2 separate regions of the Homo sapiens genome follow, and region 1 is linked to region 2. The links are contacts of gene promoters, found by promoter capture Hi-C in human tissues and cell types (Jung and others, 2019). All regions are on one chromosome and are shown on one strand. The core of a region is centred on a gene start or on the middle of the fragment in contact, and the rest is flanking DNA. Distances in the headings are between cores, read along the strand shown.

Region 1 (2,700 bases), core at 13-2,512, 520 kb before region 2:
GTCCTGCCAGGCTTAGAGGCAATACCAAGTCCAAACACTATAAAATTATCTGCGATGTTGTTTGAGCAGTAAAAGTGGTGAAGAGACCTGAGGCTACTTAGATACAGAACAACTGTTTTCTCCTTAATGAGCCACCATACACAGCGTTTAATTAAAACTGCAGGAGCATCCTGAGAACTTGGACCGAGGAGCGTGGAAGTTATGGTGGCAGTCATCGTGTGTCAGGGCTGGGGTGACTCCCTGAGACTGGACACAGTCACATCCTCCTCCCTGAACTCCTTTCATGTAGATCCCATGTCTACTACCATGTCTCCTGGTTCCCGGTGAACTGTCTTAATCCTTTTCCCTCTCGCCATCATTCAAGAGCACCCGGTGAATAGTCACACTCCACTAGCTTCAAATATTTACGGGCAACATAGAAAAATTACTTTAGTTTCCTGAGCCTCAGCTTCCCCATCTGGAAAGTGAGGATAAGGATTCCTTCTTCATGGAGCTGTTGCGGAGATCAAATAAGATACACGCAGGAGTGGCCTGACTTTCACCCACTTACACCCCTGGCATTCCTGACCAGAAGGATTGAAACCAATCTTGATGCACTGATCTTGATTCCTGACCAGAAGGATTGAAATCGATCTTGATCCGCTGATCTTGACTCCTGACCAGGAGGATTGAAACAAATCTTGATCCACTGATCTTGACTCCTGACCAGGAGGATTGAAACCAATCTGGATCCACTGATCTTGATTCCTGACCAGAAGGATTGAAACCAATCTTGATGCACTGATCTTGATTCCTGACCAGAAGGATTGAAATCGATCTTGATCCGCTGATCTTGACTCCTGACCAGGAGAATTGAAACAAATCTTGATCCACTGATCTTGATTCCTGACCAGGAGGATTGAAACCGATCTTGATCCACTGATCTTAATTCCTGACCAGGAGGATTGAAACCGATTTTGCATTTGTTATCCAAGCCATGTCCTGTGAGATGCTCCTTGGATAAGTGGTTCCAAATTCAGATAGGTTTGGGAAATGTTGTGCCCTGCATATACCCCTCCCCACTGGGGGCTGCCATGCACATGGTCATTTTAAAGAGTCTAAGAAGTCCTGATAGAAAAAATTCTGCTTTGCTGAACCCAGTGTTTTCTGAAATTTCTCACCATGGAAACTTTATTTTATGTGTATTTTTCTTTATTTGTTTCACCCATTAGCATCATTGGGACCATCTCTGGAAAACACAGGGGTGGCATAAATCACATGTGCAAAGTTGTGCCATCTCTCTGAACTCATTTCTCATCTAAAAATGAGGATAATCAATGCCCACCTTGCAGGGTGCCATGAAGATCAGAGGTAGTGAACACAAAACACCCAGCCCAGGGCCTGGCAATCAGTGGGAGGGCAACATGCATGGACACTGGGATGAGGCAGGGAGGACGCAGATGCAAGGAATGACACCATGGGATGCAGATGCTAAAGGCGAGGACCAAGGGCAGGGTCTTGACCACCAAGGGCAAGACCACCACAGGCCGGTGGGGGCCAAACCAGCAGATTTGAGACCTGGAGTCTGATATAGTTTGGATGTGTGTCCCCTCCAAATCTCATGTTGAAAAGTGATGGGACCTAGTGGGAGGTGTTTGGGTCATAGGGGAGGATCCATTATGAATGGCTTGGTGTCATCCTTGCAGTAATGAATGAGTTCCCACTTTATTAGTTCACTCCAAGAGCTGGTTGTCAAAAGGAGGCTGGCACCTCCTCCCCTCTGTCTTGCTCCCTCTCTCTCCATGTGACACACCTGCTCCTCCTTTGCCTTCTGCCATGAGTAAAAGCTTCCTGAGACCTCACCAGAAGCTGAGCAGATGCCTGTGCCATTCTTGTACAGCCTGCAGAACCATGAGCTAAATAAATCTCCTTTATTTATAAATTACCAAGCTTCAGGTGTTCCTTTAGTAATGCAAAACAGACTAACACAGGGTCCTTACATCTCCCAGACGAGCATGGGGATTGTTCCCAGTATTACAGGCAAACTCAGTCTGCGGGAGAGGGATCTGTGGCCTTGCCAGGAGCTGGGAGGACTGCTGGGCACAGGGAGAGATTGAGGAGTCATTTACCAACCCCTTCACTTCACAAATATTTATTGAACACTTGCTAACTGTGAGGTAATCCTAGCTACACAGGATACATCAGTGAAAAAAAACACAGCTCCTGCTTTCCTGGAGCTTACACGAACAACAAATAAGCAAACTAATAATATTTTAGATGATAAGTGCTACAAAAAATAAGGCAGGGTTAAGGAGAGTGGTGGTGCTATTTTACACAGGGTGGTCAGGGAAAAGCCCTTTTGAGGAGGTGATGTGAGCAGAAAGTGGCAAGAGGTAAGTGATTACACTCATGACCCATCATCATTATCATCACATCATCACCATTATCATCACATCATCACCATCACCATCATCATCAAACCTCCTCCATCATCCCTTGGAGTAAGTGCCTCTCAGGACAGGCTTTCCCAGGGTGTAGTTCCAACAATGACCACGAGGTGGAGGAGTGACTCTAACCCCGTCCAGGGGCTGGGCGTTGGTTGACTATCTCAAGCCCCCAGCCCTAGATCCTGTCAAGGTTGAGAGTCGTCTCAGGCCATCTGCAGCCATAGGAATCCCATGTAGTTGGGTTGCCAGCTTGACTGTGTGCGGGGGCTTTGGC
Region 2 (2,820 bases), core at 276-2,775:
GTAGGTTGGCTCTACTGCAAAATACAAAACCAGAGACCTGGCTAGCTCAAAGCTGAAAATTCAGTCTGTCTGTGGTCACTCGTTTGTGGAACCCAGCTATTGACAGGCAGTGCCTGGCACTGTGCTACTCAGGGATGATGGATCGATACAGCCTCACTGCTGCTTTTTTCCCCTACTCTCCGTGGAGCACACTTTCCGCCCTAGGCCCTAGGGAAAATCCATCCCCCGCTTCAGCTGGCTTTGCAAAGAAACTCAGGAAACTAACACCAAACTCAGAAGGGGGAAAACACAAGACTTTGAACTTTTTAAAGATGGGAAGCTGCTTTCATTCCCACGTGGGCATCAAGGGAAAACCTATGGGGACTCTTTTCCGGAGAGGTGTGATTTTCCTCTAACCCTCCGAGAAACGTTCCAAATCCACTCCAAAACTGTGGAGAAGTGGCCGAGGCAGAGAGAGAAGAGTTAAATCAAGCCCAGATCTCAGCAATCTGTGTTCAATTTTGATAAAAATCTCCCTCTCCCCCACCGCCCCCCTTCCTCCACCCCACAGCTCAGACACGTCTCTTTATGTTAGGAGCTTGCATCTTGTTTGGGGCACCACACGCGGCACTCCTGGAGAACCTGGCACGTACCTCACCGTGGCCATGTGGCAGAACCAACCATCCCACTCCCAAGCTACGGCTGGACACAGGGCCACAGCGTCCTGGCCATCACCACCACCTCCCCCTCTTCCTTCTCATCCTCTTCACAAAATTACCTGCCGCCAGACCAAGTCCCTCATTCCCCGGTTAAGTCAGAGTCCCGACGCCTGGTAAAGTCAGGGCATGAGGTTGGTTTGCGACCGCAGGTGCTGAGAGCCCCAGAGTCCGGGGACCCCTTTCCTGAGATGCTCCTTCCCCCGCCCAGGGTCCCACTGCCACTGAGAACAAGAACCTTACGGCTGCCCTGCCCACTGGCCAGAGGCCAGGCCTGCAAGTGGGAGCTGGGGGCTTGTGAAGACTTCAGCCCAGCCAAGTGAAGGTTCAAGCCGAACCCGGAAAAGCCACCACCAAAAAGTTGTCAGTTTTGCGGGGTATCTTCTGTGTTTGTCCACTTGTGACAACCAGGGGTCAGGTTTCAAAGCCGCAAAAAACATTTTTAAAAAGTTTTCCAAAGACATTTCCTATGTCCAGATGTGCCAGTACAGACACACGCAATCACACTCATACACACACACAACTCACACACACACAGGCCCTGGGAGCCCACTCCGGGGTCGGCGGCTCCTGCAAACACTTTGGAGAAACAAAACCGCCAGCCTGCGGAGCTGCTGCCTCCCCAAGCCCCGCGGGGCATGCTAAAGAAAGCAGAGGGAGAGAAGTGTGGGAGCCCAGCGGAGAGGGCTCCCCGCGGCCCGGGCCCCAAGACGGGGAGCGCCAGGGCCGGCCGCACTTACTCCGAGGACCCCAGGGCGCCCGCGCTCCCGCAGCCCGAGGTACGGCGCCGCCGCCCGCGCTCCGCTCGCTGCTGCGTGCTCCGCGCTATCCCCGGGAAGCCGCGGCTGCCGCCCCTCCAGGCCCGGCCTCGCGCCCGTCCGCCCGCCCCGCTCTGACGTCAGGCGTCTTGGAGCGGGATATTTATGGCAAGGTTACTCTGAATTTTCCCTAGGTAGACTTCTGATTGCAGTTTCTTGGGATTTGTAATTTTCACACTTTCAGACCGAACGCAGGCGGGGGGAGAGCGCCACCGGCAGGGCGAGGCGTACAATGAGGGTAGCTGTTCCCCACTTTGGCAGGGAGCGTTCTCAGGGCCCCTTCTGTTTTGGAAACATGGAAGGGTCAAAGAGGCAAAAGTGGCCACCTGGGCAGCGGGTTTCTCCCCGGCTCCTCCTCTGGGCTACGGGCAAATGGCCTGGTCTGAGGCCGGCTCGGAGGTGAAGGTCCCGGTGCCAAGGAATCCCCTGTCCCTCCCCAAAGTGTCCCTGCACTGGACAGTGTGTCCCAAGGGGTGCTGGGCAAGACAGGAGCGAAATCAGGCACAACAGAACAGCTAATTAGGAGTCCTGGTCCACGCCCTAACAACTTTTCCATTTCTTTTTTGGGAGTGTATATATATTTTTTTAAGTTTATTTTTATTAAATTATGTTCCACACTCCCTGCCTCTGTATAGCTTTTCCAATTCAGTGCCAGTCAATTCATCTTACTTCATTGCTTGTATGCATAGTTTGAGCAGTTTACAATAGCTCTTATTCATACTTTTAAAATTTCCTTTTAGTTTTTTTTTTTCTTTTTTTTTTAAATGTGATTGTGGTCTGTCTCCTTGACTGAACTAGAGATTGCTTTGGTCAAGAGCAATTGTCCTCTCTGGGATTGGCAACACCCTCACGGGGAGTATTTGATCTTCTCTGTTTCCTATTTTCCCCAGCTCCCTCTGCAAGCAAATGGTGCCCCCACTGGGTGATGACCTGTATACAGTTTTCTGGGTGTTCAGTGGTTGTTCTGTGTTAGTGGTTGTCTGTTTCTCCACCTCACCAAAGGGGCTTAGGGAAATGGCTTGGTTTAAGGGCCACCCTTCCAGAGAAAAAAAGAGAATGTAATGCATGATCTTCCAGAGGAAAAAAAAAAAAAAAAGAGAATGTAATGTGTTATCCTTCATGGTTCCCAAGGATTGGAGAATGAAATGAACTTAAAATGATACACGTGAGATGCAAAATACTTATATGGTTAGACAACATAAGTGTTTAGGTATTCATCTCACCATGAATGGGAGGGGGCACGGATAATTGCAAATCATCATTAAAACACAACTATAGTGAACTTTCCATTAGCCCAAACTGGTAGA

What was found. The method cuts DNA at HindIII sites, captures the fragments that hold promoters and counts their contacts. A contact is called where the count stands out against the background at its distance.
Region 1: a contact is called between a fragment that was not itself captured here and the fragment with the promoter of DAAM2 in region 2, in 1 of the 25 tissues and cell types used here (H1 embryonic stem cells).

Annotation. Positions count from the first base shown.
Region 1 is chr6:40,308,716-40,311,415 of GRCh38, reverse strand. No RefSeq gene overlaps it. Among named protein-coding and RNA genes, the nearest start is that of LINC00951, 46 kb to the left of the region's middle. RefSeq lists an enhancer at 2,258-2,700. The HindIII fragment of the contact is 5,396 bases long and covers 1-2,700 here.
Region 2 is chr6:39,791,081-39,793,900 of GRCh38, reverse strand. DAAM2 (dishevelled associated activator of morphogenesis 2) reads right to left here and starts at 1,525. Exons shown (of 25, transcript NM_001201427.2): 1 at 1,436-1,525. The HindIII fragment of the contact is 10,904 bases long and covers 1-2,820 here.